Regions from separate parts of the Homo sapiens genome. Here all the other regions are linked to region 1. Evidence: promoter capture Hi-C in 16 types of primary human blood cells and fetal thymus (Javierre and others, 2016). All regions are on one chromosome and are shown on one strand. Each heading gives the region's core, a stretch centred on a gene start or on the middle of the fragment in contact. The rest is flanking DNA. Distances are from core to core; before and after follow the strand shown.

The links. Contacts are between HindIII fragments. The CHiCAGO score rates a contact against its expected background, and 5 or more counts as called.
Region 2: a contact is called between a fragment that was not itself captured here and the fragment with the promoter of GTF2A1 in region 1, in 9 of 17 cell types (total CD4 T cells, non-activated CD4 T cells, total CD8 T cells and 6 more). The highest score is 15.1, in total CD4 T cells.
Region 3: a fragment that was not itself captured here is called in contact with the fragment with the promoter of GTF2A1 in region 1 in 1 of 17 cell types (non-activated CD4 T cells); the score reaches 5.4 in non-activated CD4 T cells.
Region 4: a contact is called between a fragment that was not itself captured here and the fragment with the promoter of GTF2A1 in region 1, in 1 of 17 cell types (total CD4 T cells). The highest score is 6.2, in total CD4 T cells.
Region 5: a contact is called between a fragment that was not itself captured here and the fragment with the promoter of GTF2A1 in region 1, in 2 of 17 cell types (non-activated CD4 T cells and total CD4 T cells). The highest score is 11.5, in non-activated CD4 T cells.
Region 6: a contact is called between a fragment that was not itself captured here and the fragment with the promoter of GTF2A1 in region 1, in 1 of 17 cell types (naive CD4 T cells). The highest score is 7.6, in naive CD4 T cells.

The regions. Positions count from the first base shown.
Region 1 is chr14:81,218,706-81,222,894 of GRCh38, forward strand. GTF2A1 (general transcription factor IIA subunit 1) reads right to left here and starts at 2,254. Exons shown (of 9, transcript NM_015859.4): 1 at 1,784-2,254. The coding sequence starts at 1,813. It overlaps GTF2A1-AS1 (GTF2A1 antisense RNA 1), which reads left to right and starts at 2,513. Exons shown (of 2, transcript NR_135252.1): 1 at 2,513-2,820; 2 at 2,934-4,189. RefSeq lists enhancers at 468-976, 849-918, 959-1,048 and silencers at 1,389-1,508, 2,039-2,088, 2,119-2,418. The HindIII fragment of the contact is 3,079 bases long and covers 169-3,247 here.
Region 2 is chr14:85,937,958-85,942,146 of GRCh38, forward strand. All of the region lies in intron 1 of LINC02328 (long intergenic non-protein coding RNA 2328), which reads left to right. Among named protein-coding and RNA genes, the nearest start is that of LINC02328, 5.4 kb to the left of the region's middle. The HindIII fragment of the contact is 2,488 bases long and covers 431-2,918 here.
Region 3 is chr14:77,315,459-77,319,647 of GRCh38, forward strand. The region is part of intron 1 of POMT2 (protein O-mannosyltransferase 2); the gene reads right to left. Among named protein-coding and RNA genes, the nearest start is that of POMT2, 3.3 kb to the right of the region's middle. The HindIII fragment of the contact is 4,303 bases long and covers 1-4,159 here.
Region 4 is chr14:77,370,682-77,374,870 of GRCh38, forward strand. The region is part of intron 1 of TMED8 (transmembrane p24 trafficking protein family member 8); the gene reads right to left. Among named protein-coding and RNA genes, the nearest start is that of TMED8, 4.3 kb to the right of the region's middle. RefSeq lists a silencer at 1,776-1,825. The HindIII fragment of the contact is 1,828 bases long and covers 1,458-3,285 here.
Region 5 is chr14:77,458,298-77,462,486 of GRCh38, forward strand. It overlaps AHSA1 (activator of HSP90 ATPase activity 1), which reads left to right. Exons shown (of 9, transcript NM_012111.3): 2 at 1,319-1,509; 3 at 3,863-3,945. Among named protein-coding and RNA genes, the nearest start is that of AHSA1, 2.3 kb to the left of the region's middle. RefSeq lists enhancers at 1-147, 1-52. The HindIII fragment of the contact is 491 bases long and covers 1,426-1,916 here.
Region 6 is chr14:77,616,973-77,621,161 of GRCh38, forward strand. No RefSeq gene overlaps it. Among named protein-coding and RNA genes, the nearest start is that of SPTLC2, 2.4 kb to the left of the region's middle. RefSeq lists a silencer at 32-91. The HindIII fragment of the contact is 1,029 bases long and covers 1,349-2,377 here.

The sequences.
Region 1 (4,189 bases), core at 1,004-3,503:
AATTCCCTGATGCAATGCTGGAAAATAAATTGGAATAATTTTTATACCGGATACCCATGTTAATATCCAAGGCAATAAAGTTCTACTTAGATTTTTTTTTAATCTAGTTTGCAGTCTGTCTCTTCCCTCTACTCACGATTCTCCTACACATAAATGGTCCTATACTGAAGCTTTAGGTACTTATCTATTTCTCTGAAAAGCCTCGTGTCTTTTATATTTACTATAGGAAAACATAATGAAATATTAGGAGCTATATTTCTAACATTATTTCCTGAATACTTGAACAAAACACTACCAAAACCAAGTCCTCTGCAGCTAACATTTTCCATGTAGAAAGCAGTTTTTTAAATTCCCGAAAATAATGCACATAAGAAAAATGGCTAGACCATCTGATCTAAAACTCTTTGTTTTAAATAATTAATTTTGAAAATTGTAAACAAAAAGGGACAGCGATTCGGATATATTCCCCCTAGCAAACAAAGAAGGCAAATCCTAGCTGCTGCTGGGAACAAAACCAAAACTTGGGGCTCTGAAAGCAGCCCGCGACGGGTGCGAAATCACAGGGTGAAAAAAGGACCTAGAAATAAACTGAGCTCTGCACACGCCTGGCTCTTGCCTCGGGAGCACGCACCTCCCAGCCCCGCTCTCAGCAGCTCTCACTATTTAAAGCCGGATCTGGTGTTTAAATGGAGAGGCGGTGACGTAGGCCTGAAAAGCACCTTCCCATCCTGGCAGAGTCTATATTAGAGAGCGGCAATGGCTCTATATAAACAGGGCAGCCAAAGGGAGGAGGACCACAAGGCTCAGGGACTGAAAAGCAGGGTAAGCGGCCGCAGCCATGATGGTTAGACCCGAGTCGCCAACGGTACGGTGTCGGGCGGCCGCGGGCTGGTCTGCGGCATTTGGGACCGGGCAAAAAACGTGTTTTATTGTCATCATAAAAATAAGAGTTGGGTGGACTAGTGATCACACTGCGTTGGTGACTGAAAAGGTTATTTATGTGACTGCTTTTTGCAAACCTACGTGATCGCAAGTAACAAAAAGGGACCAACGGGAAGAAGTAGGTAAATTTCAAGGCGAAAGCGGGGACACTTGGACCACTGCAGGCTTTTTTTGTTTGTTTTGGTGCTTCTGCTAGGCGAAGATACGATGGGGGTCTTCCCCTTCGCCATTTTACCCATTCGGAAGGAACTGAGATAAGTGCTTTTCAACCAACCTTCGTCCTTTTTTTAAACATAAAATGGCCTCAGAGAAGGTTCCCAAAGCACAGCCGCCAAAAACAACCTAAGAAACCCCCAAAGTAACCATTAATCTTCCACTGCATTAAAGTGGATCACGATGGGTCTCGGGGGTTCGCCCGATTCCCCACACACAGTTTTTGTTCTGTAGCCACTCGGGGAGCCCTCGTCAAGCCAGCGCGGACGGGCCCCTCGGGGGGAAGCGGCGGCTCCCCTCCCGCCCTCCCTCCCGGCGGCCGGGTTCTGGGGCCGGGGCTGCGCGCCCGACCGGGCCCAACCGCCTCCGCGGCCCGGCCCGGCCCGCGGCGGCCCCAGGCCCCACCGGCGCCCCCGCCCTCCCCGCGCCGCGAGCCCTCGGCGCCCCCCCGCGCCCGCCGCCCGGCGCTCCGGCCCGATCCGCCCGAGGCGGGAAGCGGCGGCGGCGGCGGCCGCGCGGGCGGCTGAAGAGTCGAGGCCGGGAGTCGCCGCCGTCCCCGCCCCCGCCCGGTCCGGCCGTTGCTGCAGCCTGAACGAAGCCCCCGCCGGCCACCGAACCACGTCCTTACCACGGTGTTTGTATTTGCCGAGTTCGCCATTTCCACACACAACACAAACAAGAGGGGGCAACCCCAAGAAAACAAGATAAAAACAAAACCAAAAAAAAAAAAACTATAACACCCGGAGGGTGACCCAAATCACCGCAAGATTGGGGAAAAAATTTTAAACAAAATCAATCCTGAAGGAGTAGGGGAGAGCGGAGAGAGGAGGAGGAGGGGGGCACTCCTCCCGCAGCTGAAAACCTCGAGAATCGCCTTAAAAAAAAAAAAAAAGCCACGACCCTTCAGGGGTCCGGGGGGCGTTGCCCGCTCCCCACCCCGCGCCAAGGAGGGAAACCACCACCGGTCACCGCTCCCTGCGCCGCCGCTGCCGCCACCGGCTGCAGCTCCAGCCGTCCGGTCCGCCCGCTTCTCTCCTTTATATAGCGAGCCAACAAGCTGCGCGAGCCACCACCGCCGCCGCCGCCGCCGCCGAGAGACAGGGTGAAGGGGGAGGGAGGGGCGGAAAGGGCGGGGGCAGAGGTGGGCGGGGCTGAGCGCGAGACACCGCGAGAGCCGCGTGCGCAGGCGCGCCGGGGCGGAGGCCGCCGGCGAGCCGCGTTGTCACGCGCCGTGGCGGGTACTGGACTGGCGGAGCCCGGGGAGTGAAGTAGTGAAATCGGACCTACGCCTCTCCAACGCTCGCGTGATCACGTGGTTGGCACCCAGGCGGAAGTCTGCGGCAGTTCTTTGCGGTGAAGAACTTGCAAAGCGTTGCTGGAAAAGACGGGAGTTCTACTGACACTCCAGTCCAAAGCTAGGTGGGACCGCCTCCTGTCGCACGTTTCCGCCTGGTCCCGCGCTTTAGGAGCTAGGAAATGTGACAGAGGCGGTGCCTACTGCCTCGCTAGGAATGGCCGCGGAGGAGGACTGGTCACGTGGCGTGGCTTCCGGCCTCTGGCGCGTTCCTATTCGGGAAGGTTTTAAATGCGGAGTCATCTCTTGATTTGTCAGCGAGGCTTTGACTGTGAGCTTCGCGGCGTTCGCGCCTCACCGCCTCACCGAGGGTGGGTCTTTCGCGCGCAGAATTGTGTAGGATTTTCCAAAGGGAGTAAAAGCCGATCGGGGCCTACTTTTAACATTCCACAATTAGTAACGTCTGATTCGTTTGTTTCCACAGTGGGTACGCTGCGAAGACTAGGCTTATGTTACCCAGAGGTTAGTCCTCTACTAGGCCACGTACTTTAAATAATTTATCACGCTAGTGGAAATGCGGGGTGGAAGAAAACCCCACCAGCCTTTGGATTGTAACAGCACAGTAACTTTCCCTGGTTTTTAAAAATATTGCCAAAATACTGCGACTCCATGTGGCCAACGTATAGTGACTGATCACTTTGAAATGCATGCCCTTGACCCACCAACTCGCATGGCCTCTCGCTATAAGAGAGCAAGCCGGCTGTGTTCCATGTTCAATTCAATAAGTGCAATTCAATAAGCTTTTGACTTGTTCTGCCCAAGCAAATCCTGCCTTTATATCGACCTTGCAAGCAGAACAGAGAATGCTGTTTGGAAGGCAGAATTCATAGTACCTAGTTTTCTTGTCCCTGGGAATTTTGAGGGACTTGAAATGTCGCGTGGATGAGTGAGGGAGTTTGTCTTCCAGAGACAAAGCAAAACGAAACGTCAAAGTTCTGTGCTGGTGAAACCAGATTTGAAGAATATCAAAGGCGTCTTACCAAAGAGGAAAAAAAATGCATCTTGCCAAGACTTGAAGAAAGGGATTAGAGAAACCAGAGGCCTTGAATACTCAGAAAATGGGAGATTGTGAATGGGTGTAGAGGATATCTATGAACCTTGACATTTCTTTTCACGCCAAGTCCATTCCCCTGTTAACAGTTGCTTCCCAGTTTCCTGCACAGCTGCATGGTCTGGGACACTTAAAGAAAAAAATCACAGGAAATCAGTGTTCTTGGTATATTATATAAAGTTATGATTCTATCAACATTTGTAATTCATTTAATATTCAGGTGACAGCCCGAAAATTTACACTAAACAATACCATTCCTGTTAAGTTTTACTACATATTGAGAGGACTTCTTGTTACCTCCCTATTACATACTCCCAAACGCTTTGCACATGGAATCCCTCACCTTCCACCTAGTTTTCCCCCCTACTATTGATATTCTTGACTAAAAGGTTGAGTAGTTTCGCCATCAATTAAAGTTAAAACCACTGCAGACAGGACAGGGAAGAAAAGCTACGAGGTTTGCTCTTCACAGAATTAATCTGTGAAATAATGGATTGTAGTTACTGGATTAAAATGGCAGAAAACCTAGTCTTGGCCTCCTTAAGACCATCAGACTCCCTGGAGGCTCTGAGTTGGCTTCTCTCTTTACACCTAGATTGCAACAAGACCTAAGCACTTGGTTAATATTT
Region 2 (4,189 bases), core at 425-2,924, 4.7 Mb after region 1:
CCGCCTACCAAGTTGTCCTTAAAACATCTGATCCCTGAATGCTCAGGGAGACTGATTTGAGTAGTAATAAAGCTCTGGTCTCCTGCACAGCTGGCTCTGCGTGAATTACTTTTTCTCTATTGTAATTCCCCTGTCTTGGTAAATTGGCCCTGTCTAGGCAGTGGGCAAGATGAACCCAATGGGAAGTTATAAATTCATTTGAATATATGTTTGGGCCTATTTATAGGCTCTCTGTTTTGTTCCACTGATCTATGTGGTTTTTTTTTGGTGAGGTGAGGTCAATGCTATGTGGTCTTAATCATTGTAGCTTTACAGTAAGTCTTAAAATAAGATAGTGTGAATCCTCAACATTATTCCTCTGTTCCTGCAGGATTGTGTTGGTTATTCTGGATCTTCTGCCTTTTAATTTTTCCTATAGAGGCAAAAGGAAAGCTTCTCTTCTGCTCTCTGAGGATTTGCTGCTGAAAAAAACTGACAATAGATAGATTAACAAAAGAAAGTCATATAACTCTATTAATGTGCAGAAGCATGGGAGCCATGGAAAATATGAGTCTCAAAGAAGGGCCAGATGGCTGCAGCTTAAATAACACTCTTCATAGGGGAGAGGGAGATGGGAGTGCAGGCAATTTAGAGTATAGGCAATGATGTTTAGAGAAATGAATTAGCCTAAAAAAAGACAAAGTTCTTTTGAGATCTGGGCGAGGTGGTGGCAAGTTATGAGAAGGTGATGAGATGTTCACCATGAACAAAATTTGTCTTATTATGCAGATAGTGTCCCTGGTAATCTCTTGGAGCTTCCCTCAGAAGTCTAGATGAAAAATCTCTCTGAGCGTGGTGATGACTTCAGATCTAGTCTCTTCTCCAGTGGTTAATCTTTCCCTGTTTTCTGTTGAAATTTCTAGGAAGTGTGTTTTAAGACAATTTCATGACTTCTGGAGGAACTTTTTTAATCAGATAAGGGAACTTGAGAGAAGGGTTTTCCTGAGGCTTCAATAAAGGAAGGGGTAAGGGGGGGCAGAGATTAAAGAGAGGCCATGGTCCTGAGGCTTATTTCTGAGGCCTTTCAACATTTTTTTTTTCAAAGCACTCAGCATGCCAAACTGCCATATTTTGGGTTGTCATTTTCTGAACCCCAATAAAACTTTAGAATCAGCTTATCAATATCTCCAAAATAGTGTACTAAGATTTTCTTTGAGATTCAATTGAATCACTTGAGAGAGTTTGGAAGAATTGTCATCTTAAGAATATTGAATCTTGGCTAGGCGTGGTAGCTCACACCTGTAATCTCAACACTTCGGGAGGCTGAGGCGGGCAGATCACGGGGTCAGGAGTTCGAGTCCAGCCTGACCAACATGGTGAAACCCTGTCTCTACTAAAAAAATACAAATTATCTGGGCATGGTGGTGGCTGCGTGTAATCCCAGCTACTCAGGAGGCTGAGGCAGGAGAATCGCTTGAACCTGGGAAGTGGAGGTTGCAGTGAACCGAGGTCACGCCATTGCATACCAGCCTAGGTGACAGAGTGAACCTCTGTCTCAAGAGAAAAAAAAAAAAAGGGAATATTGAATCTTTAAACTTGTAAATACGAGGCATCTCTCCATATATTTACACAACTCTTTGATTTTTTCATCATTGTTTTGTGTTTTTTGGTCTATAGATCCTAAATATATATGTATGGTTATATTTGTATGTGAATACTTCATTGTTTCAGTTTGGGGGAGGCTATAATAAATGCCTCTTTTTAAAAAAAATTATAAATCCCAATTGTTCTTTGCTTGTATGTAAACATGGACTTGACGTTTGTGTAATAACCTTGCATCTTGTGAACTTCTATAATTGCCTATTAATTCTCACTGCAGCCTCCGCCTTTGGGTTCAAACAAATCTCTTGCCTCAGCTTCCTGAGTAGCTGAGAGTACAGGCGCATGCCACCAAGCCTGGATAACTTTTGTATTTTTAACAGAGATGGGATTTCACCAGGTTGGCCAGTTTGGTCTCGAACTCCTGACCTCAGGTGATCCACCTGCCTCGGCCTTCCAAATTGCTGGGATTACAAGCGTGAGCCACTGAGCCCAGCCACTTGCCTATTTATTCTAAGTTGCTGCTGTTCATAGTTGCTTTGATTTTCCACATAGAAAATCATGTCATCTGTGTATTAAGACAGTTTTATTTCTTTTTTTCCAATTTGTATACCTTTTATTTATTTTTCTTACTCTTTTGTATCAATTAGTATTTCCAATACAAAATTGAAAAGTAATGACAAAACATCCTTGTCTGTTCCTGATCTTAAGGAAAAATTTTCCAGACACCCACCACAAAGTATGATGCTAGCGGTAGGAGGTTTTGTAATTTTAAAACACCAAATTAAGGAAGGCCCTCTCTATTCCTACTTTGATGTGTGTTTTCATGCTGAATGGGCATGGATTCTGTCACATAATTTTTTCGTTTCAATTGATACAGGCACATAATTTTTCTGGGTCTGTTACATTAGTTGATTTTTTTGAATGTGAGTTAACCTTGCATACTTGAAATAAACTTTCTGGGTTGTAGTGTATTACTGTTTTTATACATTCTCTTCAATTTGTTATTATTTAGTTGAGAAATTTTGCTTCTGTTCTTAAAGGATATTGGTCAGTAGTTTTCTTTTCTCTTAATGTCTTTATCTGCTTTTGGTAGGAGGGAAATGCTGATATTATGTAATAAGTTAGGAAGTGGCCCTTCTGTTTCTGTTGTGGAGAAACGGCATTATTTGTTTCCTAAGTGTTTGGTAGAATTCATTAACTGAAACCATCTGTTTCTCAGGCTTTCTTTTTTTAAAGTTATGAAATATTGATTGAATTTATTTAATAAATACAGGACAATTCTCATTTTCCTTTGTATAAATTTTGATAGTTTGTCTTTCAGGAGGTTTAGCTATTTAAGCTTTGTTATCAAATATGTTAGCATAACATTGTTCATTATAATCTTTTTTTTATTCTTTTCATGTCCATGGGTTCAGTAGTAATGACTCTTTTATTTCTGATATTGATAATTTCTGTCTTCTCTTTTTTATCTTGGTTAGCCTGGCTATAATTTTGTCAACTTTACTGAACTTTGCAAAGAAAAATATTTTGGTTTGTTTGATTTTTATCTATTATTTCTCTCCTTTTGATTTCTGTTACTTCTGCTCTAATCTTTATTAATTCTTTTATTCTGCTTGTTTTAGGTTAAGTTGCCCTTATTTCTATGGTTTCTTATAGTAGAAAGGTTATTGATTGTAGATATTTCCTCTATTCCAAGATATGCATTTAATTCTATGAATTTTGAAGCACTATTTTCACTGCATTCTCAAGTTTAATAATTGCATTTTAATTTTCCTTTATTTTAAACTATGTAAATGTTCTCTTGAGACTTTTTATTTGACCCATATGGTATTTAGAAGTATATTATATAATTTTCAGATACTTGGAAATTTCTCAGCTAAATTTCTGTTATTGACTTGTAGTTTTGACTGCACCTGTTATCTAAGATTAAACTTCATATTATTCTTATTTTTTAATAAGTATTTTTGATTCTTCTTTCCATTCCTTATGATGTTGCTAGCATTCATTTCTTTTATTCATATGCTTGAATCACCAAATAAATTGTTATTATTACTTTAAACAAATAGTTACTTTTTTGGTCATTTAAGAAAAAGTAAAACAAAATATTTTATTTTATCTTTATTTATTTATTCCTATCTTTTCTAGATACACATTTCTGACATAGCATTTCCTTCTGTTTGAAGAACATCTTTTAACATTTCATGCAGGAAGTTCTGCTGCCAATAAAATTCTTTATTTCTTCTTCACTCTTCAAGGATAATTTTGCTGATTATAGAATTTTAGTTTGGTAGTTTCTTTAAATATTTTAAGTATTTCACTTTACCCTCTTCTTGCTTGTGTGATTTTCGATAAGCCTGCTTTTATCCTTAAAATTGTTCCTCTATAGGTAAGTTTTTTGTTTTTGTTTTAGATCTGGCTACTTTCAAGTTGTTCTTCCTATCTTTAGTTTTCTGCAGTTTGAATTTTATATGCTTTGGAGGAGTGTGTATGTGTGTGTGTGTGTGTGTGTGTGTGTGTGTGTGTGTGTGCATTTATTTATTTATTTTTCCTGCTTTTTGTTTTTTGAATGTCCTTGATTTGTGGCTTAGTGTTTGCCGTTAATGTTTTA
Region 3 (4,189 bases), core at 758-3,257, 3.9 Mb before region 1:
GTAATGTTTGAGCCACGCTCCCTGTAGGGAAGGGAAGTTAAAGTGACATTCCAGGCAGAGCTCTTTGGGCCTCTTCAATGTACTATTCCTGTGGCTTCCAGTGCTGAATGTATAGCTGATACTGATCCCATAAGTGTCGAAGAGGATTATCCTGGGCAAGGGCTGCTGTGTGTAGACAGGTGATCCTGTCCTCTCCTGGTGGTCCAGAAGAAAAAAATCTACATCCCTGGAAGGGAAAGGAAATAAATCACAGGCTTAAAAACTTCGTGGCGGCTGGGTGCAGTGGCTCATGCCTGTAATCCCAACCCTTTGGGAGGCCGAGGCGGGCGGATCACCTGAGGTCAGGAGTTTGAGACCAGCCTGGCCAACATGGTGAAACCCTGTCTCTACTAAAAATACAAAAAGGTAGCCAGGCGTGATAGGGGCGCCTGTAATCCCAGCTACTCGGGAGGCTAAGGCAGAGAATTGCTTGAAGCCAGGAGGCAGAGGTTGCAGTGAGCTGAAATTGCGCCACTGCACTCCAGCCTGGGCGACAGAGCGAGAATCTCAAAAAACAAAAACAAACAAACAAAAAACAACTTTGTGGCTGCTGGAGTACTGAGAGCCATGCACCAGAATCACAGTGCCACCTGCTGGACATAGGTACCAAGCACACCCTTTTTAAAAGGACAGCTATTAACTCCTTAGTTAACTACTCAACACTTTGAAATTGATTGCCAGACCCATAAAGGCCTCAGGACTCCCTGGCCTAGTATTCCCACTTTGGGGTGGGTCAATGGGAATCTACTGATAACAAGGGAAGGGTTTAACAAGCCTCACTGATCCTATGGAAATAGTACATTCAAGAGTACAGCTGGTAATCCCAGCTATTCAGGAGGCTGAGGCAGGAGGATGGCTTGAGGTCAGGAGTTCAAGACCAGCCTTGGCAGGATAGTGAGAACTCAGCTCTTAAAAAATCTGTTTTAATTAGCTGGACATGGTGGCACGTGCCTGTAGTGCCAGCTACTCAGGAGGCTGAGACAGGAGGAGCCCAGGAGTTTGAGGATGCAGTGAGCTATGATTGTACCACTCCACTCCAGACTGGGCAACAGAGTCAGATCTCATCTCTAAAAAAAAAAAAAAAAAAAAAAAAGAGTATAGCTAGCCTGGCCCTAGAGGCATCTTGGTTTTACGTGAAGAAGTGGCAGCTCCCACTCTGGGAGAAACAACCTTCTCTGCTACCTGAAGCCGAGCTGCTGTTCAGTAGGGCCCTTGATTCACAGGGGTTCCTGTAAATGCTTAGGCCTGGCTCACCAATGATTAGGCTGAGTTAAAAGCTGATGTTGCCCACCAAGCAGCAGCAGGCACTTAGCCCCAATGATAACTCTGGATGGCTGATGGCAGTAAGGATTGAAGCATTTGGTATGCCACTTGGAAGACTAAATACTGAGAGATGAAAGCTGAGAAGTGTGGAAACACATCATGGCTGCCTGCCAATAGGACAGACTGGATCACTCACGTAGGTGCCCACACTAAGGGCAGGTACTCTCGTAAGACTGACTGGAATCAAACTGCTGATCCAGCCTGCACCACCAAGACTGCTGCCATAGCCACCTGGATTCATGCAACCGGTGTGGAAACATCTACCATCATGGGCTAGGCACAACGTAAGGGACTACATGTTTCTGAGGCAGAAGCCACCACTGCGTGCCAGACTTGTGACTCCTGCCAAAAGTTGGCCTGCTTGTCTTGCAGTAAAGGAAGCCACATTGCAAGGGGCACTGACCACACCTGCTCCTGGGAGATTGACATTAGGACTTTGTTCCCTTCTCTAGGCTCTCATCAGTACCTTGCTACTGCTGATACTTTTTCAGTTTACAGTGCTGATGTTGCTTTTCCAGTCCAATTATCTGACTCTGTGTATACCACTGTGGCCCTTGAAACTAAACTGCCAGGTTTTCTGCTTTCCAAACCATCTACAGTCTGACACTGGCATATCTTTTTGTCGCAATGGCCACCCAACAGTGTCAACAGTCAATAGCCAAGGTATTCGATGGACCTCCCACACTCCCTACCATCCACAGGCATGACATTGTCAAGTACTGAACAGTTCCCTCAAAGATCAACTCAAAAAGATTTTTGATTCTATGTTTTTAACCTCCTCCTGGTCTGCAAACCTTACTGAAGCAGTTTGGTCACCTAAGGCAGCCATTCTCAGAAATGGGTCATCTCCTTTTGCCTACCAACTGGGTAATGATCAGGAAAAAGGGGTGGAGGGTTATATAAACCTATTTTGAAAATGTGAGATTCTCCCCTGACCATTTCTGGCCATGATTCATCTTTCTTCCCCCTTACAGAAAGCCCAGATCAGCTGGGAGGAGGAGGCTATCTATGTAATTCAGACTTAATTCTAGTTCAGTCACTAGATTGTCTTGTTGGAATGGCCTGGTGCCAGAACATAAAGTTAATGATCATTTGGTTGGGTATAGTGCTTTTAAAGTCCCCCTACAGTGGCCCACATGTGTCAAGGTAGAAGACATAATGGGCCTCTGTCAATTTTCTAACAATTGGATATTAGAAGGCCTGCGTATTGGTAGGGGATAAATGGAGAAAAGGTGAAGTTATAGTTACTAGGGTAGGACACACTCATTATGTAGCAATGGAAGGAAAGAAACAATCCTGGCATCTGGGGAAGGAACACCACAGGACCCTGGAGATGTAAAGAGAAGGGAAACAATGTTCTCTTTGTCCCTATCCAGCACCAAAGCCTGGCAAACATTCACATGGTCCATCTAGGTCAAGCAGCAACTGTGGCTGGCAATCTGACCTGTGGCTGAGTTTGTCATCTCACTATGAAAACATAAAAACTTTATCTAGCAGGTCAGTATAAAAAAGAAAATAAAAAAAGAAAACAAAAACTCACATGGACACGGCCAGTCTTGAACTATTCCCACGTGCCTGATGACATCAACACCAACTCCCAAACGCAGACCTCCCTCATAGGTGTGCAAACACACAGATCAGCACCACCTTCTATCAATGCGGCTGATACAAATCACATGCTTCTCCTGAGATCCTAAGGGCCTTACTTAGGTTATGCCTTGTCTAGTGATTGAGGCTGCAACTGTTCAGTGACACTGCCCATGTGGTTTAAACCACTGTAATGGTAATCAAATTTGATGGTGATCCAAATAAAAATCTAACAAAAATCCTGGAGTGGCCTGCACTCCTCCAAGTAATATGTTAGTGTAAGGAAGAATGGGTCACAAAATATCTTTCCATTAATCATGGTAGTTAATTTTTTTTTTTTTTTTTTGAGACAGAGTCTGGCTTTGTCGCCTAGGCTGGAATGCAATGGTGCGATCTTAGCTCACTGCAACCTCTGCTTCCCAGGTTCAAGTGATTCTCCCACCTCAGCCTCCCGAGTAGCTGGGATTACAGGCACCCGCCATCATGCCCGGCTAAGTCTTGTATTTTCAGTTGAGACGGAGTTTCACCATGTTGGCCAGGTTGGTCTCGAACTCCTGACCTCAGGTGATCTGCCCGCCTCGGCCTCCCAAACTGCCGGGATTACAGGTGTGAGCCACTGCGCCCAGCCTGGTAATTACTTTCTTAAAAAAATTTTTACAAGGGTAGTGGGCTATTGTAATTACTGGTAATGACACCAAAGATCAGAGATCAATCTGAACCCCTGTGCACAGGTCACAGTGGTTAATAGACTGGTCTTAGACTGCAGCCCAGATGTCTGAAATAAGATTCCTCGGTGCCCCCAGGACTTATTCACAAGTGGCTGAATCCAGGACCCTGGAGGGCATGGTTGAGGTAAATACTGTAAGCTGGCCTTATTCTGCTGCTTAGAGTCCCATTGACAACAACCTTAATTAAATGCTGTAAGGGACAAACTGAAAAGATGTGAGTAGCCAGGGGAGTTGTATATTCATGTGAAAATCTGCTAGAAGCCAAGACCATAGAATCGAGGAGTGAGAGAGGCTGTCAGATTGCTCGTGCCTCTACACATCATTCTGGGTATACCAAGAATGCAAGGCCCTGACTGCATCTCACCTGGGCCATTTCTCATGGTTGTGTTTGCAGCAAGCAACTTTGAGAGAAGAGGCAGTGTCTCCCTCCAGGACAAAGAGGAGGTCTGCGTACTGCCTTCTATAAAACAGCAGATTTTCCAAGCTTGTCGTTCCTTCACTTGGATGCAACC
Region 4 (4,189 bases), core at 1,122-3,621, 3.8 Mb before region 1:
GCAATCAATGTTATTTGGTTTTGTGTAGTCTTCCAAAGATGTTTTATGCATATAAAAAAAAGTGTGTGTGTGTGTGTGTGTGTGTATACTTTTTCACTTTTTTACACAAAAAATGGGCATGCTTAGGCGTGGTGGTGCGTGCCTGTAATCCCAGCTACTTGAGAGGCTGATGCAGGAGAATCGCTTGAACCCGGGAGGCGGAGGTTGCAGTGAGCTAAGATCACGCCATTGCACTCCAGCCTGGGCAACAGTGCGAGACTCTGTCTCAGAAAAAAAAAAAGGTCGGGGGGAGCATGCTGGACATACTACTGTGTACTTTGTTCTTTCCACTTATATCTCAAAGACCTTTCCATAACTGCACATGAAAAGCTTCTTCATTCTTTTCTACAGCTGATTAGTATTTCATTGGGTGAATATTCCATAATGTATTACCATTACAAACAATGCCATAATAACCTTGTATCTATGTCATTAAACAGGAGAATAAATAAATCTATAATTCCTGGAAAGAATGAGTCAAAGGGGCATATATTGTAATTCTGATGGATATTGACAAGTTGCCCTCCACAGAATCTGTACCAATTTACAATCTCATTAGCAAAGCATGAGAGTGTCTGCTTCTGCACACCGACCAACAAAGTGAGTTAGCAAACTACCAAGTGTAGTTAGGATTTCCAATTCCCTTATTATGATTTAGGTTGAGCATTTTTCACATGGTAAGCACCACTTCTCATAGCATTTTAACAACTTAATGTATACTGGAAAAAAATATGCTTTTGATTTTTTTTCTTTCCATCCCATAAGGAGTTGAGCTTTTGATTTTTAACTTTAAAGGAATGCCCTAAATTATTTTTAATTTTAAAGAATGCCCTAAATTACATAAGAACTACTGGTAAAACAACTTATAATTGGATTCAGAGAGGCAGGAAGTAAGAAAAGGAGAAAGAAAAACATAACTTTATTTCCAGAAGTATAAAGTGTGGGAGATGCAGCGCTGTTTCAGTGAGAGAGAATTATGAGCACAGCCTTTTAGGTTTCCTGAAGTTCTTCAGTGAAATTTAAGCCACTATGCAGAAGAAAAAGCCAATTTTCCTATAGTATAGCTTTTATTATATTAGCCAAATATAAGCCAATTCTGAAAGTATTCCTAGAAGAGATCAGAGAAATCAGGCCAGACTTTGCAAATTTAGATGGTATGTGGGGAAATGTTTTTTATTTTTAAAAATATGTATTCTAGTATATATTAAGAAAAATGGATATATCAAACTAGTAATATCGTAGGTATTATTTAGAATGAAACTTTTAAGTGTCAATCAAAATGTCAATTAAATGTCAATGTCAAGAAAAAATAGTAAATAACTAATACTGTAACGGTATTCTCCAGTGTGGCAAAGTCATTACCATGGTTCCTCAGTGGCCGAAATCTCGGAAACAATGAACGGAGGAGGAAAAATGGAAGCTTAACAATAACTTAATTTATCATTGATGGCCACTAAAGCAAAGGTGAGAGAGAAAAAAGGAACTTCCTTAAAATAACTTATTTTATATTTGACAACTTTTTAAATGTGCATTTTCTTTCTACATTACCAAAGGGTCTGGTTTCAGACATTCTGATCATGCTAGGGATTCAAACTTACTGTGTACTTCGTACTTTCCCTACAAGGAGAACCAAAAAGCAGGTTTTTTTCAAAAGCATTTGAATATCAGGTCAGGGTTCTTTAGAACAGGCCTCAGAGGATTTCCCCCTCAGTAAACAGGCTGCAAAGAGATAATTAGCCTGTCATTTTAGATTCCAGTGCAGAAGAACTAAAAGCAGGCTATGTGGTTACAGACTCAAGAGGCTTAAACGAAAACAAATTAAGTGAGTTTATGTTCCAACCAAATCTAGTGACCATGTGATCCAATTTCTCTTCAGCCCTTGAGTGGGACATGCTCCTGAGAGGTCACTCAGATTGTGCACCTTTGGTTATACTGTTTAGACTGAATCACGACATGAATAATCAACTATCTGACTAATCGACTATCTGGACACTAAAAACACAACCACTGTAAGAAAAAGAAAGCCACAGGCAGACAAAATGTTAACATTTTGACATAAAACCACAATAGAAAACTAAAAAACATCAAGGCTGTTTGTCATTGACTCCCTATTATTCTTACCATTCAACATGGTAGCCACCAAATTTTGAATTTTAATTCATGCACATTGAAATAGCCACAGATATTATATATATATATATATATATATATATATATATATATATATATATATTTTTTTTTTTTTTTTTTTTTTTTTTTTTTTGAGACAGCGTCTCCCTCTGTCGCCCAGGCTGGAGTGCAGTGGTGCAATCTCGGCTCACTGCAACCTCTGCCTCCTGGGTTCAAGTGATTCTCCTGCCTCAGCCTCCTGAGTAGCTGGGACAGATATGAAATATTTTCATCACTGCAAAAAGACTTATTGTAATATTCTAACTTCTACCTTAGAACCATGAACAAGTTTACCTGACCTGTTTCCATCCTCAACATCTAAATGTATTGATAGCTCTGGGGGACATACACACCAAACTAAGTTCTACTGCTGACTTCAGGATCACAATAGAGTTTTATTTTCCTTTAAACTTAAAAAAAAAACAAAAACAAAAACAAAAAAACCTGCCTTTAAGTGATGCAACAAGTATGCCTCAGATAGTTTCATAATTAAAGAATGATTTATCTCTCCTCTGGGGAACTGAAGAACCCAGGTGCCTCAAATAAAAGACTATTAAAAACAATTACAATGCATAAAACAATAAGAACACCATGACCACTGGAGAGCTTAGTTCATAAGAACATAAATCCTTTCCTTCCTTTTCACCAAAACCTCAGCTAACAAACATGAAGACACTCAATAGGTATTCTCTGCAGAGAACACTTTTAAAAAACAAGTTATGGTTATTCTGGATAATGACACATTCCTGCTTTGAAGGAATAAGATACACCAAAAAACCAAAACCCTTAACTCAACAATACCTGATATGGCTTGGATGTTTGTTCCCTCCAAATCTCACGCTGAAATGTGATTTCCAATGTTAGAGGTGAGGTCTGGTGGGAGGTGACTGGATCGTGGAGATGAATCCCTCATGAATGATTTGGCATCATCCTCTTGATGATAAGTGAGTTCTCACTCAGTTAGTTCACCTGAGATATGGTTGTTTAAAAGAGTCTGGGACCTCCTCCCGTCTCTCTCTCTCTCACTCCCAACTCTCGCCATGTGACATACCTGCTCCCCCTTTCAGTATGATTCTAAGCTTCTTGAGGCCCTCACCAGAAACAGATACCAACACCACACTTCCTGTACACCCTGCAATACCATGAGCCAATTAAAACTCTTTTCTTATAAATTACTCAGTCTCAGGTATTCCAAATGGACTAACAGAACACCTGAATATCCAATTCCATTTCTTACTGCTGTTTTCTCTCTGAAAGGGTGAGAGAAATCTCATTAAATTTCATTCTTTCTTAGAGCTCTATTGCTTACTCATTGTATCATTTTCTAGAGGAAGATGGCAGAAGGATCCAATCAAACGAATTCCAAGTTTAAAGCAGTTTTTTGGGGTTTACGCCCAAGCCTCTGGTCCAGGCCAAATATAGTATTTCCACACTGCTTTGGAAGCCCAGCTTAACTCTAACACAGCGTTCCCAAAAGCAGCACCACTGACATCTGGAGCCAGATACCTCCTTGTTATGGGGATTGCCCTGTGCCTTGCAGGATGTTTAGCAAACATCCCTAGCCTATCCTCACTAGATGTCAGCAATAGCTGCCACCAGTTGTGACGAGCAAAAATGTTTCCAAACATTGCCATGCCCTGGGGATACAAAATCGTACCTGGTTGAAAACCATTGCTCTAACCCAAGGAACATTCTTGGTTATCTCAACCCTAATTCTTCACATTCATTAGATGCTCATCCAGATCTCTGCATTCAGACTTTCTCTCACCATCAAACTCAGCAAATATTTGCGAAACCTCTAAAACACAACATCAAGGGCTCTAGATAAATAAACAAGCAAGAGAGATTCCGTTCCTAACTCCAAGCAGGTTTCTTAGTAGATAAAGAATTGTAATAAAAGACGCCCAATTATATAATGTTTTGAATTGTTAATTGTTTCTCCCTGAAATGGATCTCTCATCTCATCAAACTGAAAACACCT
Region 5 (4,189 bases), core at 421-2,920, 3.8 Mb before region 1:
GGGAGACCTGCGGCCGGGCCAGGGTTTCAGGGTTCCTAGAACCTCGGCCCGGACAGAGCTGGGGCTGAGGTAGCCCTGTCCGGAGATGGGGGTGGGTCCTTCCTGTGGCAGGGGTCCGTAGCCCCAGGCCTCTCCACTCCGCGGTCACCTTCTCAGTGTTTGAGGGGAGGGAGATGGACGTGGAGGGCTGCGCCCCAGAGGAGGGTTGTCAGAGAGACTAGGAGATAACGCCCTGGCTGCTGCATCCAGCCCGAGCAGGGAGGTGCTTATTACACGTGGCCAGAGGAGTCACTGAGACTGGAACCTCCTTTGATTGTGTTGGGAGATAGCTGTGAAAGGCCTAAGGCCAGGGGTCTGTAATTCCTATTTTGCGGCCTGCGGTAAAATTAAAAGTCATTCATAGGGGACCGCTGCAGCGGTCCCGCGGGAGATTGAGAACGTGTTGTGCAGGTGCTCAGAGCTCAGATAGCTGCGGCCTCTCACCCGGAACTATCAGGTCGGGTGTGTTGGAACTCCAGGTTGCCGAGCAGCCGTGGTTTTATAACCTGACCGTTCTTAAAATAACTGCCCTCCTTCATGAAATCTTCCCAAAGTAATATTAGTTTCCTTATTTTTGAATTCCACTGAACTTTTTTCGTAATGTTTGTATTGTACCGTTACTTTGTTGCAGCCTTTTTTGCTGTTGTTTTCTCTAATAGTTGATAAGTAGGAAGGCAGATAGTGATGTTTCTTTTCCATATCTCACTTTGTATTCTCTCTTCTTAACATGCAGAGTACTTGACCTAATTTTTGTTGTTTGTTTTGAAGCCCTGGACTTAACGTTTTTGTGGCCATCTAGGGGACAGTGAATGTGTAGGAAGTTTATAATGCAAGTGCGAATCTGATAGGTCAGAACACCGTGCCAATGAGGTCAGGGTTATTGGTTTAATCCTTTCTGGGCCTTTTAGCTAAGTACTATTCTTTCATGGTCCAGTCTGTGTTCCTGATCTCAGCAATATGTGCAGTTTTCCACTTGGTCAAATGGGGGCGCCATGTTAAAGTATCAAGTATTCCCCCGCACCATCATGCCGAGAAAGGAGAGCATAATTTTCCATTGAGTTTATACCATTTTCTACAGCAGCTGTCTTTGTTGACAGTGTGCAACCCCTTGTCTTCCTAAAAAAGAATGACATGTTTGTGGACATACTGGAGTGCGACTGGGAGTTTTTGTGTTCTTTTCAAACTATTTGTCAGGCCTCCTTTAACCTCGTATTCTCTTGCATAGAGCAGCGTATCCTCCGTTTGACTGCTGGTTCATAGCTCTGTTTCTGCTTTGCAGGACGGAGAGAGATGCTTCAAATTGGTCCACGGATAAGCTGAAAACACTGTTCCTGGCAGTGCAGGTTCAAAATGAAGAAGGCAAGTGTGAGGTGACGGAAGTGAGTAAGCTTGATGGAGAGGCATCCATTAACAATCGCAAAGGGAAACTTATCTTCTTTTATGAATGGAGCGTCAAACTAAACTGGACAGGTAAGTCTAAGCTGGGCTGTCAGAGAGATTAACTGTGTTTTGTTTAACCTGTTAAGTAGCTGGAGAGAACAGTTTTGAGGAGTTACAGACCTTGAAGGGAGAAGGCAGATGTTGCTGCTTTGGAGTCCTATGTAAAGCAGTATCGAGTCCTGGAATTTCTTTGCCATTGTGGGATGCTAAATGGATTTCCTGTGTCTGGGTCTCATAAGTCCCATCCATGAAGTGGCCGGGCCACTGCATCTTTGGGCCTTGGTCTTTGTTGGGACACCTACGATGATATTTCTTCAGACTAGCTACATGTATCTTGTGAGTGATTTAAAAGGAGGAAGGAGAGGATTTTTTTGGTCTTGATCTTTGTGCACTGTCTTCAGTGTGAATCTTAACAGATTAAACCACTGCGCTAATGAAGCTTGTGTGTGACAGTAATTTGGGGCTGTTTTATCTATCTTCTAGTTTTATGTCCCTTGTGTATGACATTAGGAAAAAATTGAGGTCATGCGTATGACCGTTTTGGACAGTCCTGACTGTCGGGAGCCTGAATGTAAAAAGGCACTAAAGCTAAGGGAGTATGAGATAGCTACTGTCTGTGTATGGGGCAAAGCATGAAATTTGTGCTTTGATAAACATTTCCGAAGTGAACAGTCATATCATAAAGAAGGGTGCAAGTAGATCTATCTGTCCATGATTTTTGTTAATTTGTTTTTAAAGTACACTCGAAGCATAGTAGTGTGGAAGGAATCTTCGGTGTCATCTTGCTCAGACCTCCTTTTTTTTTTTTTAGACAGAGTTTTGCTCGTCACCCAGGCTGGAGTGCAGTGGCACGATCTTGGCTCACTGCAACCTCCACTTCCCGGGTTTAACCAGTTCTCCTGCCTCAGCCTCCCAAGTAGGATTACAGGTGCCCGCCACCACGCCCGGCTAATTTTGTATTTTTATTAGAGATGGGTTTCACCATGTTGGCCAGGCTGGTCTCGAACTGTGTCTGGCCGACGCTTTTTTTTTTTAATATAGGGACTAAAAATTGGTAGCATAGTTTTGTGCACATTAAATGGTAAGAAATAGATAAATATAGGCCGGGCGTGGTGGCTAACGCCTGTAATCCCAGCACTTTGGGAGGCCAAGGTGGGCGGATCACGAGGTCAGGAGATCAAGACCATCCTGGCTGACACAGTGAAACCCCGTCTCTACTAAAAATACAAAAAATTAGCCCGGCGTGGTGGCATGTGCCTGTAGTCCCAGCTACTCGGGAGGCTGAGGCAGGAGAATCGCTTGAACCCAGGAGGCGGAGGTTGCAGTGAGCTGGGATCGCACCGTTGCACTCCAGCCTGGGCAACAGAGTGAGACTCCATCTCAAAAAAAATAAAAAATAGGTGAATACTACAATAAATATGGTGCTTTACCATGAAAAAGACCTGAAGTTTATTTGTGAAAGTGGGCATCAAAGCCAGGCGCGGCGGCTCACGCCTGTAATCTCAGCACTTTGGGAGACTGAGGCAGGTGGATCACGAGGTCAGGAATTGGAGACACACCTGGCCAACATGGTGAAACCCCATCTCTACTAAAAAATACAAAAATTAGCCGTGTGTAGTGGCACGCACCTGTAATCCCAGCTACTTGGGAGGCTGAAGCAGAAGAATTGCTTGAACCTGGGAGGTGGAGGTTGCAATGAGCCAAGATCATGCCACTGCAATCCAGCCTGAGCGACAGAGCAAGACTCTGTCTTGCGGGGGGAAAAGGTGGGCATCAGAAGGGTTGCAGCTTGAGGACTACTATGGAATGGTAGAAGGAGAGTCATCCACAATCAGAGGGAACATTACACTCGTTGAGGATGGGTATGGCTCACAACACACGCTGTAAACTGAGGTCATTGGCAGATAGGTGTTTGAGATGTGTGTGTTTTATGTATCCTGTGTAGCTGGGTGAGGCTTTCCGTATTCACCTAGTGTTTCTCATGGATGGAGTCACATATAAGCAAACATGAACTTCTCATTATAATCAAATTGTTCCCTAATATTTCAGTTGCACTGAAATAAATTGATATTTTCAAAACAAGTATTCTAGCAGAACTACTGGCTTTTGACCCAAGTTCTCATGGTATAACTCATGCTAGTACCAAATCTGTAGCTCTTTGTCTCACATTGTAATAACATAGTTGGTTTCCAGTAACCTGGTGAGGAAAGACATTTCTTTTGGGGGTGCGGGTGTTGATTGCATCTGGCATGTGGCATTCTCAGAATAAAGAGGATCAGTTCAGCCATCCAAAAGCAGCAGAAGTGAGGTAGCAGTTAGGACCCTGGAGCAGAGACCTTTCCTGCCAAGGAGTGGACTAATGACATTGCATTGGTTTTGACAGGTACTTCTAAGTCAGGAGTACAATACAAAGGACATGTGGAGATCCCCAATTTGTCTGATGAAAACAGCGTGGATGAAGTGGAGGTTTGTGCTTCATAACTCCTAATCCGAGTCCTCTATATCCTCTTATTCTCAGATGAGAAAAGTGACCTGTCATTCAGGATTCATAGCCCAGGCTTGGTCCAAGCATTCAGAACCCTAGCCTGCAGATAATTTTCTAGGCATATGGTGCCATTGGAAACTTCTAGAGCAATTTGCACTTCTTTAATTTCTTCACTTTAGCTAGTGACATGGGTTCTAACTAACATTAGCCACTTGACAGAGAGGA
Region 6 (4,189 bases), core at 613-3,112, 3.6 Mb before region 1:
CCGGGGTAGGGCTTGCCTGTTTAATGGTCCAGACCGAGGAGGAGGCGGAGCCCAGGGAAAAGTAGCCAATTAGAGTGTGAGGAAATAAAAGGGGCTGAGCCGAAGTCTCTAGAGCGGGTTCCCAGGTTCTCCAGGACAGGTGGCGCCCTCTTTGCCCTTGCCTCGTGGGAAGTTTTGGAGTTTATGTCCTAGCCCAAGACAGGCAGCTCGCTTATTTAATTAGCTGATTCCTCTGTGAGTGTTTATAGAATAGATTTTTTGACAATCTCTCATCATTCTTCAATATGCGCCACACATTCACTATTTCTGAATTATTATAAGTAATAATTCAGATGCCTTTTCACGTGCCCTTCACATTTGCCCTTGGCAGGGTTTTCTATACAGTCTCCTTTAAATTAAGTCTTTCCTTCAAAGTTAGAAAACCTGGTCTAATTCCAACTCTGCCAATAACTGGAAGCTAAAACTTGAGCACTGTGTTTAACCACTTTAGAAGCCAAATTCTTTAAAATGGAGTTAATACTTCCTGCTTCATAGACTTACAGCAAGAATTATATCATTAACCCATTATGCACCTCTTATAATACTAGGCTTATAGTAGGAGTATAATAAATATTATTTTCTCACCCTTTTAGTTCCATCTTCCCATGGGGTTAGAAAGCAAGGAAATTGATCTACATTACAATTAGAGACTTTCTGTTATCCATAAAGAATTTAGTATCATAATTGAGAGTATGGACTCTGGAGTCGGTCTGGGTTTTAAATCCTAGCTGCGCCACTTACTAGCTGAGTGACCTCTATGTGTCTTCATCTGTTCAGTGGGGACAATAATAGTTGTCGTGAAGATTGAATAAGTTTATGTATGTAATGTATTTTGTACAGGACCTAGCAATTAGTAAGCATTCATTAAGTGTTGGTTACTAGTAATTGCTAAATGCACCTATGAGAATCCGTGCATTCTTTCCCCACCCTGCAGGAGCTTTAGAAAGGAGGTCCACAAGGTATTGGTTTTGCATGACTTAGGAGCTGAATAATCTAACAGAAGGTGGGATCATTCATCCCACACATCCTATTTGAGTTGACAAACACTATTGATCCCAAAGTGAATATACATCTGTATGTATAAGGCTAAAAAGGAAACATGTGGCTGTGCTTCATGGAGCTTACATTTCAGTGAGAGACAAGATATACACATAGAAAGAAAACAATAGTTAAAGACCAACCTAAGGCTGGAGAGATTAGGCAACAGGAGTTCTGATGAGGGAAGCTGAATGGCAGTGATGAGTCTAACCAGGTAGAAAGTTTTCAGGGCAGGAATCTGGATGGAAGCAGGGCTAAGGGATTTAACTGAAGCTTAGGGAGTGAGCTGAATGACTCTGGAGAAGGCTTGCGAGGAAGATGTGCAATGAGACAGATCTTGGAAGATGAGCGGGACTTGGAGAGCTGGAACTGAGAAGGATGGGGAGGGTGTTCTGAGGAAACCTTCAGAAACTCGGGTGTCGAGTCTAGAAAGATCAAAGCCTCACCTGCAGGCTAAGAGGAGTAAAGGAGTCTGGCTAGATTTGAGGAGTCCTGTTAGCCGATCCCTCCTCAGGGGGCTGGCCCCTTGTCTTGTTCCGCCACTTACTCACTATGTATAGTCTTGGACAAGTAATGCAAACTCAGCCCTGGTTTCCTCACTCATCTTACAAAGTGTGTACCTGTACTACTTACCTTACAGGCTTCTGTGAGCATCAGTGATATACAGATGATCTGATTACTTCACATGCCATTGCTAAATCACAAAAATGATGCTGCAGTAGGCAGTAGGAAACACCCCAGACTCCATGTAAACAGGAAAACAACTCCTTCCAGAAACATAAGCCGCTTAATCATCATTTTACAGTGTTCATATGCAAAGTTCTGTGCTAGGCACCAGGAAGACAACCCTTCTCTTCCTTCAAGATTGCTCAAACCACTTCAACTGTGAAGCCTGTTTTGAACCCCAACCTCCCCACAAAATTAGTTGCTTTCTCCTCTGTGAGCTTTATACACACCTGTGTAAGCATGTATCACACTGCTTTGAGATTCTTTGAGAGGGAGGTTACACAATGCTTAGAAGCAAGAGCTCTGCAGTCAGATATACCATAATTGAAGACCGGTTTCAGCACCTAGAATCCTTATGATTTAGGCAAAGCTGCCTAACCTCTCTATGACTCAGGTACTTCTTCTGTAAAATGGGATATACCTCATAGAGTTGGAGAATTAACAAAAGCATTTAGTGCCAAGACCTGTTACATAATATTAAATGAGTGTTGGTAATTATTCATTGGATAAATGAAGTACTTATTAAGTGAATGAATGATTGATTGAATACATTTATACTTACAATTAGGCAACAAGCTTGGTGAGTTGAGGGGATTGTCTAATTTATCTTTGGGTTCCCAGTACCTACCACGTGTCTGTCACATAGCAAATGCTCAATAAATGTTTGATGAATGCATAAATGGATAAATGAATTAAAATTTGGCCTTGGCTGGACATGGTGGCTCACACTTGTAATCTCAGCACTTTGGGAGGCCGAGGTAGATGGATCACGTGAGGCCAGGAGTTCGAGACCAGCCTGACCAACATGGTGAAACCCCGTCTCTCCAGAAAATACAAAAATTAGCCGGGCGTAGTGGCACATGCCTGTAATCTCAGCTACTTGGAGGCTGAGGCACAAGACTTGCTTGAACTTGGGAGGCAGAGGTTACAGTGAGCCGAGATTGTGCCACTGCACTTTAGCCTGGGTGACAGAGAGAGACTCTGTCTCAAAAAAAAAAAAAAAAAAAAATTTTGGCCTTGTCTCCAAGGAACCTTCTATCACATGGAGACTGTGTTAATTGAGGTTCTTTGGTTGCAGATAACATAAGCCAATTTTAAAAAACTTATTCAAGAAAGGTAAATTTATTGGAACTCTCCTGAAGACAGGGAAGTGTTGGCACTCAGGAAAATCCTAAACCTCAGCAGCAGAAAATTATAGACCTTCCTTCCTCCTAACCAAACCACTTCTGGTGCTTAGCTCTCAACAACCTACAACTTTCATATTCATGAGGTCAAACTTCTACACTCTCAGGAAAAAGAAATCTGATTGGCCTAGCTTATGGTGAGGATGGGTAAATCTGACCAATCGCAATGGCCAGAGCACAAGGTCAAACTGCTGGAGGGGAGGAATCAGTTATAGACAAGGAAGAATCATAGCAGAGAAGGGAGGAACAACCCTAACAGTGTTCACTACAAGGAGATAGAACCCGGGAGTGAAAAGGACAAATAGCAATAGCTTAGAATGGATGTTAAAGAAGGAGGCTGGCGGGTGCAGTGGCTCACACCTATAATCCCAGCACTTTGGGAGGCCGAGGGGGTCGGATCACCTGAGGTCAGGAGCTCGAGACCAGACTGGCGAACATGGTGAAACCCCCATCTCTACTAAAAATACAAAAATATTATCCAGCGTGGTGGCGGGCGGGAGGCTGAGGCAGGAGAATCGCTTGAACCCGCGAGGTGGAGGTTGCAGTGAGCCGAGATCGCGCCATTGCACTCCAGCCTGGGCAATAAGAGCAAAACTCCGTCTCAAAAACAAAAACAAACAAACAAAAAACCCAAACAAGTAGCCAAGCCTCAGGCAATCACAGAAGCCATACTTCAACCACTCAACAGGCAGCCAACTGTTCAGTGTTCAAATAAGGCAAATGCCAAGCTATAACCATTCCAACTGTTTCTGTGTCTCACTTCTGTTTTCTGTATGTTGCTTTCCTTTTTCTATTCATAAATCCTGTCTCACCATGTGACAGTGCTGGAATCTCTCTGAACCTTCTGATTCTGGATGGGGGCTGCCCAATTTGAGGATCATTATTTGCTCAGTTAAATTCTGTTAAATTTAATTTATTTCTTTTTTTCTTTTCTTTTCTTTTCTTTTCTTTTTTTTTTTTTTTTAGGATGGAGTTTCGCTCCTGTTGCCCAGGCTGAAGCGCAATGGCACGATGTCGGCTCACTGCAACCTCTGCCTCTTGGGTTCAAGTGATTCTTCTGCCTTAGCCTCCCAAGTAGCTGGGATTACAGGCTCCCGCCGCCACACCTGGCTAATTTTTGTATTTTTAATAGAGACAGGGTTTCACCACATTGGCCAGGCTGGTCTTGAACTCCTGATTTCAGGCGATCCACCCACCTAGGC